2 separate regions of the Homo sapiens genome follow, and region 1 is linked to region 2. The links are contacts of gene promoters, found by promoter capture Hi-C in human tissues and cell types (Jung and others, 2019). All regions are on one chromosome and are shown on one strand. Each heading gives the region's core, a stretch centred on a gene start or on the middle of the fragment in contact. The rest is flanking DNA. Distances are from core to core; before and after follow the strand shown. Region 1 overlaps ANAPC1 (anaphase promoting complex subunit 1). Region 2 holds the start of TMEM87B (transmembrane protein 87B).

Evidence for each region. Contacts are between HindIII fragments. The study calls those that stand out against the background at their distance.
Region 1: a contact is called between a fragment that was not itself captured here and the fragment with the promoter of TMEM87B in region 2, in 1 of the 25 tissues and cell types used here (spleen).

What each region holds. Positions count from the first base shown.
Region 1 is chr2:111,868,673-111,874,916 of GRCh38, forward strand. ANAPC1 (anaphase promoting complex subunit 1) reads right to left here. Exons shown (of 48, transcript NM_022662.4): 4 at 4,941-4,992; 5 at 4,636-4,736; 6 at 3,958-4,040. Among named protein-coding and RNA genes, the nearest start is that of ANAPC1, 12 kb to the right of the region's middle. The HindIII fragment of the contact is 4,344 bases long and covers 1,218-5,561 here.
Region 2 is chr2:112,051,844-112,058,368 of GRCh38, forward strand. It overlaps TMEM87B (transmembrane protein 87B), which reads left to right and starts at 3,426. Exons shown (of 19, transcript NM_032824.3): 1 at 3,426-3,913. The coding sequence starts at 3,749. RefSeq lists silencers at 2,418-2,467, 2,668-3,397 and enhancers at 4,128-4,197, 4,228-4,567. The HindIII fragment of the contact is 9,449 bases long and covers 1-6,525 here.

The DNA.
Region 1 (6,244 bases), core at 2,140-4,639, 180 kb before region 2:
GGCACACGCCACCACGCCCAGCTAGTTTTTTTGTATTTTTAGTAGAGACGGGGTTTCACCATGTTGGCCAGGCTGGTCTTGAACTCCTGACCTCAGGTGATCCACCTGCCTCGGCCTCCCAGAGTGCTGGGATTACAGGCGTGAGCCACCACACCTGGCCAGAAGCCTACATTTTTTAAGGAATTATTTTTTTTAGAGCGAAGACGGGCTTTCTTTCAAAGCATAAAGAGATGAAAATCTATCAGCAATTTCTTTAAGACTTAGCAAGTGCCTACCTCTTGCACCACAACATGCCTGACAGGTGCTGTATGCTGCTGCCCTTCGGTGTGCTCATAATTCATAGGGGGCAAGATAAACACGCCGCTAGTAAACATCTGCCATTTATTGCATACTTAATACCTACTAGGCCCTGTGTCAAAGCTTATATACATTTAGCTACTTTAACTTTGCATAAGTCCTAAGAGGTAAATGATAACATTCCTGTAACGCGTAAGGAAACTATAGCTAAGAAAGCTCTAATGATCTGCTCAAAGCAGCACAATGAGAAAATGGCAGAGCTAAGAACTGAATCTTGTTATTTATTTTTTTTTTGACACGGAGTTTTGCTCATCGCCCAGCTGGAGTGCAGTGATGTGATCTCGGCTCACTGCAACCTCCGTCTCCCAGGTTCAAGTGATTCTCCTGCCTCAGCCTCCCGAGTAGCTGGGATTACAGGCACCTGCCACCACGCTTGGCTAATTTTTTGTATTTTTAGTAGAGACAGGGTTTCGCCACGTTGGGCAGGCTGGTCTCGAACTCCTGACCTCAGGTGATCCACTCGCCTCGGCCTCCCAAAAGTGCTGGGATTACAGACGTGGGCCACCGCGCCCGGCCAAATCTTTTTTGAAGCCATTTATTTGCATATTCAATTTTACCACTTAGATTGGGAAAAAAGGCTAATTAAGTGCCAAGTGCGTAGAGTTCATGAGTGTACATACAGGCTGAGTATCCCTTATCTGAAATACTTGGGACCCTAAGTGTTTTGGATTATTTACCTTACACTAACGGTTGAGCAACCCTAATTCTTTTGGGGGTACAAGTGGCTTTTGGTGACACAGAATTATGTAGTGGTGAATTCTGAGATTTTAGTGCACCTGTCACCTGTGTAGTGTATGTTGTATGCAATATGTAGTTTGTTTATCCCACACCTTCTTCCCACCCTCCTCCTTCTGAGTCTCCAAAGTCCATCATAACACTCTGTATATAGCCTCTGCATACTCCTTGCTTAGCTCTCACTTGGAAGTGAGAACATGCAGTATTTGGTTTTCCATTCCTGGGTTACTTCACTTAGAATCATGGCCTCCAGTTCCATCCAGCTTGCTGCAAAAGACATTATTTCATTTCCTCGTTATGGCTGATTAGTATTCCATGGTGTATATATACATTTTCTTTATTCACTCATTGGTCAATGGGCACTTAGGCTGCTTCCTTATCTTTGCAATTGTGAATTGTGTTGCAATAAACATACATGTGCATGTATCTTTTTCACATAATGACTTTTATTTCCTTTGGGTAGATACCCAGTAATGGGACTGCTAGATTGAATGGTAGACGTACTTTTAGTTCTTTAAGGAATCTCCATACTGTTTTCCATAGATGTCATACTAATTATGTTCCCACCAGCAGTGTATAAGCATTCCCCTTCCACCACATCCATGCCAACATCTATTGTTTTTCTGACTCTTTAATAATGGCCATTCCTTAAAGAGTAAGGTGAGATCTCACTGTGGTTTTAATTTGTGTTTCTCTGATCATTAGTGATATTGAGCAGTTTCATGTTTGTTGGCCATTTGTGTATCTTCTTTTGAGAACTGTCTATTCATGTCCTTTACCCACTTTTTGAGCTTCTGTCTTGCTGATCTGAGTTCCTTATATATTCTGGATACTAGTGCTTTGTTGGATGCATAGTTTGCAAATATTTTCTCCCACTGTGTGAACTATCTGTCTATTCTGACATTTCTTTTGCTGTGCAGAAGCTTTTTATTTTAATTAGGTCCCATTTATTTATTGTTTTTGTTGCATTTGCTTCTGGTGTTTTAGTCATAAATTCCTTGCCTAGGCCAATGTCCAGAAGAGTTTTTCCAAGGTGATCTTCTAGAATTTTTATGGTTTCAGGGCTTAAAGCCTTTCATCCCTCTTGAACTGACTTTTGTATAAGGTGAGAGATAAAAAAAACCCAATTTCATTCTTCTAAAAAAGGTATCAGTTTTCCCAGCACCATTTACTAAATAGGATGCCTTTCCCCCAATTTATGTTTTTGTAAGCTTGTTTGTCAAAGATCAAATACTTGATTACAAGTATTTGGCTTTATTTCTGGTTTCCCTATTCTGTTCCATTGGTCTATGTGCCTACTTTTATACCAGTACCATGCTGTTTTGCTAATTATAACCTTGTAGAATATGTGATGGCTACATACTTGTTCTTTTTGCTTAGGATTGTTTTGGCTATTTTGGGCTCTTTTGGTTCCACATGAATTTTAGAATTGTTTTTTCTAACTCTATAAAAAAAAAGATCTTATTTTGATGAGAATTATGGTGAAATCTATAGATTGCTTTTGGCAGGATGATCATTTTCACAATATGGATTCTTCAAATCCATGATCATGGGATGTGTTACCATTTGTTTGTGTCATCTGTGATTTCTTTCAGCAGTGTTTTGTAGTTCTCCTTATAGAGATGATTCACCTCCTTGGTTAAGCATATTCATAGGTTTTTGTTTTTGGCTCTTTGCTGCTCTTATAAAAGGGATTGAATTTTTGGCCAGGTGCGGTGGCTCATGCCTATAATCCCAGCACTTTGGGAGGCCAAGGTGGGTGGATCACCTGAGGTCGGGAGTTCGAGACCAGCATGACTAACATGGAGAAACCCCATCTCTACTAAAAATACAAAAAATTAGCCAGGCGTGGTGGTGCATGCCTGTAATCCCAGTTACTCAGGAGGCTGAAGCAGGAGAATCGCTTGAACCTGGGAGGCAGAGGTTGTGGTGAGCCGAGATCATGCCACTGCACTCCAGACTGGGCAACAAGAGCAAAACCCCGTCTCAAAAAAAAAGAGACTGCGTTCTTGATTTGATTTTCAGCTTTGTCATTGTTGCTGTATAGCGGTGCTATTGATCTGTGTACATTGATTTTGTAATCTGAGACTTTACTGAATTTATTTATCAAATCTAGGGGTCTTTTGGAGGAGTCTATAGGGTTTTCTAGGTATATAATCATATTATCAGCAAATAGTGATAGTATGACTTCCTCTTTTCAAATCTGGATGTCCTTTATTTCTTTCACTTGCCTGATTGCTCTGGCCAGAACTTCCAGTACTATGCTGAATAGAAATAGTGAAAGTAGGCATCTTAGTCTTCTTCCAGTTCTCAGGGGGAATGCTTTCAACTTTTCCCCATTCAGTATGATGTTGGCTGTGGGTTTGTTGTATATGACTTTTATTAATTTGTGGTAAGTCCCTTCTATGCCTAGTTTGTTTTTATCATCAAGGGATGCTGAATTTTATCCAATGCTTTTTTCTGCATCTATTGAGATGATCATATGGTTTTTAATTGTTTATGTGATGTGTCACATTTATTGACTTGTGTATGTTAAACCATCCCTGCATCCCTGAGACAAAACCCACTTGATCATGACATATCTTTTTGATGACAGCAACCCTAATTTGAGAATCCAAAACCTGAAATGCTCCAATAAGCATTTCCTTTGAGTGTCATGCTGGAGCTCAACAAGTTGCAGATTTTGGAGAATTTCAGATTTTTGGATCAGGGATACTCAACTTGTACTGAGATGAGAGAAAATGGCATATATCTATGCTGTCAACATGAAAATTATCATCATCTCAAACTTTTAGATAAACCTCAGAACCAACACAAACACACAAATCCCAAGCAGTAATATTCTGAAGTGAATAAAATGAATACCTGGGTGAACCTGGAGGTACTTCATGTGAAGAAGCGCTTCGTTCAAACAGCAATCCATATTTAGTGGGCCAAACATTTGCAACCTTTCAGGTAAAAGGGTGGGAAAAGATAGAAGTAAGAGAACCTACCCCTTTATAAAATGTTTTAAAGAAACATTACAGAATGTTTTATTTTCCAATTTAGTAATAGCTTTACAAAGTAACATAATCATTAAATACGGTATTTTCTTAAAAAGTAATACAAATAAGCAACTCTAAGATAAAATCAAATCTAATAAAGAGGAGTTGTTCAATGTGAAATTCCTGCCACTGGCCAGGATCAGTAACAAAATGACAATGTGTTAACAATAGCCCTAGGCATTAAAAAGACGATGAGTAACAAAAAAAGACTGGTGTTATTCATATGCCTTATTTAATATAACCAAAAGTTCTTAGGTATCATTTAAACCAACAAACACATACCACAGAAGACTTCCTAATTTACTTCACTAAATAACTTATTTTCTTGTGAAGTACAGAAAAATGGTAAGCCACTAAAGCTGCCAAAATTTAGTTATTTTGAGTAAAAATAACATTTTTGACTACTACGAAACATGAGACATAAGACATGCCTCTAAAACCAATTAATTCAAAAATGTTCTCCAACAAAACCCCCCCAAAATTTGAAACACTTGTTTACCTGAAATGGTAATGAAGCTATGTAATCCTTTCCTTCTATGCTATGCATGTTAATACATGAGCTTTGCAATATACATATGCATTTTTCTACTTCATTGCTACCTGAAAAGAAAGGGTACAACAAGACTTATGTGTTTTTTCCCTCAAAGGAGTTCAATCCTAACAGCACAAATTATTTAATGCACAATATAAAGATGCTTATGGTAAACCACTATTACTAGTGGCTACTTCATTTGAATGAAAAATACAATGAGATAAATATTTGGAATCATCATAAGAAAAATAAAATTTCAAAAAGAAACTTACTGTAGGCCTTTTCAGACTTATCCTGTGATATAATGAAGTCACACCACAATGCCTAAAATCAAAACAAAATGCTTACCTAAGAAAATTATATCTAAATAATCATCTATTAACTAATGGCATCTAAATAATAATAATAGCATCTACGTAATAACTTTGCCTCCTCAGCTCAACATGTACAATCATGGGAACAAAAAGAATAAGAAAAAATAAATTAGAGTAATAAATGATAAATATGATAAGGAAAGGCAAAATATGTTTACAATTAAATTTTATGAAAAGATCCATAGGAATTAAAATTTTAAATTAAAAAAATAAATTTTACAAAAAGAGAAGACAAGAATCAAAAAATCTACCAGATAGAAACTTTGCAGCAAAAATTCAAATAGTAGCTCAAACCATACTAAACCCTATATCCTCTACAAAACTAAAGATTATTCAAACTTTATAATCTCCAGATTAAACAACTGATCTTAGACTCTCTCTAGACTGACTTTTGAAAAAGTCTTTAGAAAAACTAACTCCTCCCTTTCTTAAAAGCCCATCTTACAAAATATAAACTAGGAAAAGCTATTAAACTTTAACTGACATACCTGGCAATCACTTATTATTTAACAGCATTTTGTGTTTTTTTTTAAACTGTGGTCAAATACACACAATATGAAAATTAACATTTTAACAATTTTTAAGTAGACAATTCAGTAGCATTAACATTAAATTGACGAGCTTAGTACAATTTGTGAGCTTGTACAATACTGCACATTTCCAGAACTTTTTCCTCATCTCAAACAGAAACTCCGTGCCCATTAAACAATACTCCCCATTTCCCAATGCCCTGAGCTCTGGTAACCTCTATTCCACTTTCCCTATGAAAGGGCCTGTGCTAGGTATCTCATGTAAGTGAAACTGTACATTTGTCCTTTTATATCTATTTTATTTCACTTAACATAATGTTTTCAAGGTTCATCCATGTTATGACATGTATCAGAATTTTATCCCTTTTTAAAGCTAAACAATATTCCACTGTTAGCATATACCACATTTGTTTATCCATTCATCTGTCAATGGACATGGGTTGTTTCTACCTTTTGGCTATCATAAATAATGCTGCTGAAAACACTGGTGTACAAGTATCTGTGAATCCCTGTTCTCAATTCAATTGTGCATATACCTAGAACTGGAACTGCTGGATCATAATGGTAATTCTAAGTATAACTTTTCTTTCAAGAGATGGGGTCTCACTCTGTCACCCAAACTGCAATGCAAGGCATGATTCTAGCTCGCAGCAGCCTAGAACTCCTGGGTTC
Region 2 (6,525 bases), core at 2,176-4,675:
AATAAGTAATTTTTGGAAGATATTTCCTCATGAAGCTTTTGCCAACTAACTTTAGAATAGAATTGATGATTCTTTCTGAATCAATTTTAATTGTGATAGTTGCCAAATGGTGATATTTTAAATTTGTTATTCCTTCTGCATTTATTAGTTTTCCAACTGTAAGAAAGTGATTTTCTTTCCTATTTATGTAATCATTTATTTATTTATGTTAGTATAGACTCATGGATTCCTATTTGAGTCAATGAGTTACAATCCACTACTATCATTTTGGTGACCAAATTGTCCCAGATCTGGTAAGTGGAAGGGAGCTCCTTCAAACTGGCTCCTATGCCTTTTTGACGTGTCCTCATAATTTTTTACCCACTTCCTTACTTTCTGGCAAAACAAGATTCTCAAGTTCATCATGAATTTCTCTATTCCATTCCTGGGCTCAGCCACTTCTCCAAGGATCCCTGGTTTATTTTAGTGGAGAATGATATTTATAAAGCAAGATCTGGTGCTAGATGTACCTATTGCTACTGGGGTGTCGCTGCTTCTAGGTCCTCCTGGGAATCAGTGCAAGAAAATATAAACACACACACACACACACATATCTACATCTATTTATAAAACTAAATTTTAAAAATGAGTTCACACTGATATCATCAGTTGCAAGCCAGCATTATAGTTCATTCTAACCTTCCTCATTTTCCTTTTTTTTTTTTCCTTTTCTTGCTTTCTTTCTCTTTCTTTCTTTTTTTTGTTTGTGACAGGTTCTGACTCTGTCACACAGGCTGGAGTGCAGGGCTCACTGCAACTTTCGCCTCCCAGGCCCAAGTGATCCTCCCGCCTCAGCTTCTTTGAGTAGCCAGAACCACAGGCACGCCACCACACCTGGCTAATTTTTGTATTTCGTGTAGAGACAGGATTTCGCCATGTTGTCCAGGCTGGTCTCAAACTCCTGAGCTCAAACTATCCACCCGCCTTGACCTCCCAAAGTGCTGGGATTACAGGCGTGCCCAGCCACTGTAAACATCTTACGACCATGGGTGGTGACTGGCAAGAAATGTACCTTGCTAGTTTTAAGATGGAGTTATTTTTAAAATGGTGTCACCCTGGCTCTCCTATGCTCCTGTTTCCCAATTTGACAACCAACACGATCTTTCTGATCAGCTCATCCTTACTTAAAAACCATCATTGGGGCCGGGCGCGGTGGCTCACGCCTGTAATCCCAGCACTTTGGGAGGCCGAGGCAGGCGGATCATGAGGTCAAGAGATCGAGACCATCCTGGCTAACACGGTGAAACCCAGTCTCTACTAAAAAATATAAAAAAATTAGCCTGGCGTGGTGGCTGGCGCCTGTAATCCCAGCTACTCAGGAGGCTGAGGCAGGAGAATGGCGTGAACCAGGAAAGCGGAGCTTGCAGTGAGCCGAGTTCGCGCCAGTGCACTCCAGCCTGGGCGACAGAGCGCGACTCAGTCTCAAAAACAAAACAAAACAAAAAATCATTGCCTCTCCAGTGTTCTTAACTAAAGGTGCCATCTGCCTAACTTAATTTAGGAATGCCTGTATGTTTTGGTACTGTTTAAATATTCCCAGCTTTGCCACTCTCCGTCTCACACCAACATCCAGTCATCTGGAAGATCTTTCCATTCCTCCAGTTCTCTCGTAACTAAAACGATTTCAGACTTACCCCTCACTCCCACAGGTAACTCGCCCTTAACTCTTCTTGTAGAACTTAAATTTCATGTATTGTTCTCTCCTTCTGTCCCTCACTTACTTCCTAAATCTCTGGTGGATGTTCCCCTGTGGTCCTGTTACAGTTATTCTGACCTAAACAGAACTGATCACGTTGCTTACTGGGAAGATGCACATGCAATCTCTAGTGTATAGTAGGTCCTCAATAATTACTGGTGACTGGTAAAGCAGCCAAGGCCTTTGGACTATAAATCGATCTTATTCTACGTTAATAACAATATTAGCACAGGATTCTATTCCCTTGCTGGATATTATTTACATTTGATAATGAATGAACTAATTCTCTTTGACAGCAAAACATGTATTCAGCTTACAGCCGAAAATGCAAGGGAAGGTACACAATAAGACGGATCCAAGCCCTGACCCCTCTGAGCTTTAAGCCAGTCAAGTAACTACTTGTTCTGAAAAGTATTAACTGTCCTATTAACGTTAACCTTCACAACACAATGCCTTGTGTTCAACTGGCCTTGGCCTCAAAGCACTTTCCTGGCACATTCCCTGAATTTAAAGAACGGTTTCCATACAGCTGAGAGGGTCGAGGCAGGGGTAAGTGTAGAAGACGCAAGAAATGGAGACACCCTGGGAACAGAACTCTAGACTGCACTCCAACCGTAGCACTTACTAGGCATTCGACTCCAGGACCTTGACACTCGCGCTCGCTGGCGGCGAGCCCCGCCTCCCCACTGCGCCTCATCTCCCAGACAGGCCCCGCCTCCCCACTCAGGCCCCGCCTCCCCACTCAGGCCCGTCTCCTCACTCAGGCCACGCCTCCCCGCCCAGTCCCGTCTCCGTACTAGGGCTTGCTCCAAGCCCTGCTTCCTCGCCCAACCTGGCCTCCCCACTACGGCCTAACCCCAAGCCCTTCTCGTCCAGCCCCGTCTCCACACTACTGCCTGGTCCTCAACTCCGCCTCCCCACTCCGACCCCATCTCCCTGACCAGCCCCGCCTTTACGCTCAGGCTCCGCCTCCCCGCCGGGTCTTGCCTCCAAATCCCGGCCCCGCCTCCACGCGGCCCCGCCTCCACGCGGCCCCGCCTCCACGCTCGGCCTGGCCCCAAGCTCTTCCTTCCTGGGGCACTCTGTCTCCGCACTCCGGCCTGGTCCCGAGCCCCGCCCCGCCTCCACACGGCCCCGCCACCACACGGCCCCGCCTCCACGCGGCCCCGCCTCCACGCTCGGCCTGGCCCCAAGCTCTTCCTTCCTGGGGCACTCTGTCTCCGCACTCCGGCCTGGTCCCGAGCCCCGCCCCGCCTCCACACGGCCCCGCCTCCACACGGCCCCGCCTCCACACGGCCCCGCCTCCACACGGCCCCGCCTCCACACGGCCCCGCCTCCACACGGCCCCGCCTCCACACGGCCCCGCCTCCACACGGCCCCGCCTCCACACGGCCCCGCCTCCACACGGCCCCGCCTCCACGCTCGGCCTGGCCCCAAGCTCTTCCTTCCTGGGGCACCCTGCCTCCGCACTCCGCCCTGGTCCCGAGCCCCGCCCCGCCTCCACAGTCCCGAGCCCGCCTCCAACCCTGCCCTGTCCCCACACCCAGCTTGGCCCCGAGCCACGCCTCCCACCCCGCCCCCACACTCCCGAGCCCCGCCTCGTCTCCACACTCCGGCGGCGCCTCCCTACCCGGCCCCGCCTCCGCGCTCGGGCTGCCAGCCCTCCCTTGCACGTTCCGGCTCCTCTTCTATCTTCACGCCCACGCTAGGCCCTGAGCCCAGCCTCCACGTCTCGCCGCCAACTCCACATCCTGGCTCCTATCTCTGCCTTCCAGGCATCTCCCAGCTGCACGCTCGGGCCCGGCTCAGAGCCCTAAGCCCTGCCTCCCGGTCCTGGCCGGGTTTCCCAGAACTGCACGGCGCCTCTCCGCCCAGGCCCAAGCGCGAGCCCCTCCTCCACACCCGAGTCCGAGCCCCGCGTCCCGGATTCGGACCCGCCTGCCTGGGGCGGTGCTGCACCAGGTGCGGGTGTGGCAGGCGTCTCGGAGCGCCAGGTGCAGCTTCCTGGTCAAGATGGTCGCCGCCTGCCGCTCGGTAGCCGGGCTCCTGCCACGCCGCCGCCGCTGCTTTCCCGCCCGGGCCCCGCTGCTGCGCGTCGCCCTCTGCCTCCTGTGCTGGACCCCGGCGGCTGTGCGCGCGGTCCCTGAGCTCGGGCTCTGGTTAGAGACAGTCAACGACGTAAGTGGAGTGTCGGGACCCAGGCGTGGCACGTCTCGGGCCGTCAGGGCCGTCGTGCGGCTTCGCTTGACCCCGGGCTTGTTCACCCTGCCTCTGCCGGGTCAGCACCGGGTCCCCTGATACCCTCCCTGAGCCTTTTGTCTGTTACAGCCGGGGAGCGGGGAGCGGCCCCTCCTCCGGCCCGACCTGGGCTGCAGGCAAGAGCCGTCAGGATTGCGCATGGGACGGCCCTCGGGTCCGAGCGCTCGGACTGTTACTGAGGGTCACCATGCCCGACGCCGTGGCCCTCATTCTGCTCTGACATGTTTTGGCTGGATCAGGAATCTCTCGGCACATCTAGCAGCATCTTTGGGATTCGACTCTTCCTGTCCGGATGCAGCCACAGTGGGCCACACCCCTGAGGCCGCAGGGAGGACTTGCCAGCGCTTCAGTTTCTGCATAAACTTAGAAAGCGGGTCTGCCGCTTCCTTAAAAAAAAAAAAGAAAGAAAAAATTTAAATGAGGGGGAAACGTGCAGTAGTCACCCTACCTCTATTTCTCTCTTCTTGAGTTCCTGAATTTCTCTACAGTTCCTGTCACAGTTCCGGGAGAGAGAGTGTGTGTGTAGGTGGGGCGGGACTTGTGATTAGGGAGTGCTTGAAAGGCGAATCTGGAGGCATGAGTGGGTGGAAACTCTTCTTTCCAAGGCAGGCTATTAGAAAACTTGGCGTCTGGTAATTAGAGGAGATGATGTGGGAGAGATGCAGGGGCAGAATTATGGAAAGTCTTGCAAAAGAGAGACAGGAAGTCTGGAAGAGGCATTATCTCCGGCTTCTCTGGGGTCAGATGACTCATCCAGCACTGTTTGGGATGGGTATTTTCCACATGCATGAAATAATGTCCAGGTTCTAAAGATGAGACTTATATTTTGATTTCCTTAACCAGAAAAAGAAAGTAGTTCCAAAGACTACAAATACTTCCCACAACACAAAAGCTACTCAGAGGAACACGCTGGGTATCTTTCTGGATCTTTTAAGACCTAGTGCAGCCATTTCCTCCAGGATTGGATTCTTCTGGGTTGGTGACCTAATTTGTGTGCCAGTTATAGTCTGCACATCTCCATTATTTAATTTCCTGAACGGGAAAAAGTAGAACTCAGTGAACTACTCTCATGGCTTCCTGCTGCTACGATAGTGAATAGTCAATATAACTATATTGGAAGTGAATCAGTTGCATGCATATTGTTGGATTACTTGAACATATCTGTATAGATCTTTGCTAAGTGTACTGTGAACATACCTGCAAAGATCTTTGCCAAGTGTACTTCTTCCTGCATGAGGAAGAGAAGTTTGCTCCTTGAGTGCTGCATGACCTTTAGGCTAATTTTACTCCTGTGTGACCCTGGGCCGCCAGAAGTCTAAAAGCCCTTCTCTCCCAAGAGTGGACTTATATTTTCCACATTTCAGGTTGTCAGAAACAGGAAAGGAGAGTGGGGCTTTCTTTCATTTGTACTGCAAATCTATCAGGAAATTTTGTTTCTTTGTTTTTGTTTGTTTGAGACAGAGTCTTGTTCTGTTACCTAGGCTGGAGTGCAGTGGCACAGTCATATGGCTCACTGCAGCCTCAAACTCCTGGGCTCAAGCAATCCTCTAGTCTCAGTCTCCTGCGTAGCGAAGACTATAGGTACATGCCACACACCAGTTAATTTTTAAATTTTTTTGTAGAGATAGGGGTCTCACTATATTGTCAAGGCTGGTCTTTAACTGCTGGCCTCAAGCCATCCTCCTGCCTCAGCCTCCCAAAGTATTGGGATTACAGGCATGAGCCACTACACCTGGCCAAGAAATGGTTCTTTTGAGTGTACAAGGGAGCAAATGGTTGAAGCACCACTGTGTGTCATATGTTAGACTGGTCATTGCTGTTGCAAAGATGAATTTTAGCCACAGCCCCTTCTCCCAAGACGTTCACACAATAATACGGATAACAGATTTATGAGTAGATAGTCATATACACTGTGATATACTTGGGATATTACTGGAGCACCAAGGGGGTCACCTAACCCTGCTTCCTGGAGGAGAGACCTGCCTCAGTCTTTTTTTTTTTTTTTTTGAGACGAAGTTTCGCTTTTGCTGCCCAGGCTGGAGTGCAGTGGCACAATCTTGGCTCACTGCAACTTCCACCTCCCGGGTTCAGGGGATTCTCCTGCCTCAGCCTCCTGAGTAGCTGGGATTACAGGTGTGTGCCACCACGCCTGGCTAATTTTTTATTTTTAGTACAGGCAGGGTTTTTCCATGTTGATCAGGCTGGTCTCGAACTCCTGACCTCAGGTGATCCTCCCGCCTCAGCCTCCCAAAGTTCTGGGATTACGGGCGTGAGCCACCGCACTCGGCCTCAGTCTTAAAAGATGGATAAGTACTACCTTGATGAAGAAGAGGAGGGGAACAGAGCAGCAGCAGTGCAGGAAATTATTGGTGTTCCTGCTACATCAAGTTCTGGCAGGGTTGTTAGAGGGGACTCAGGTCACCACAAGCTTTCCATGCCTGAGCTTGGCCTTGAGCCTGAGGCCAGAGGCCTCAAACTCAAGGACCTGTGTTGGCCAAGGCAAGTCATATCATTAAGCACAGTGAGCTAAG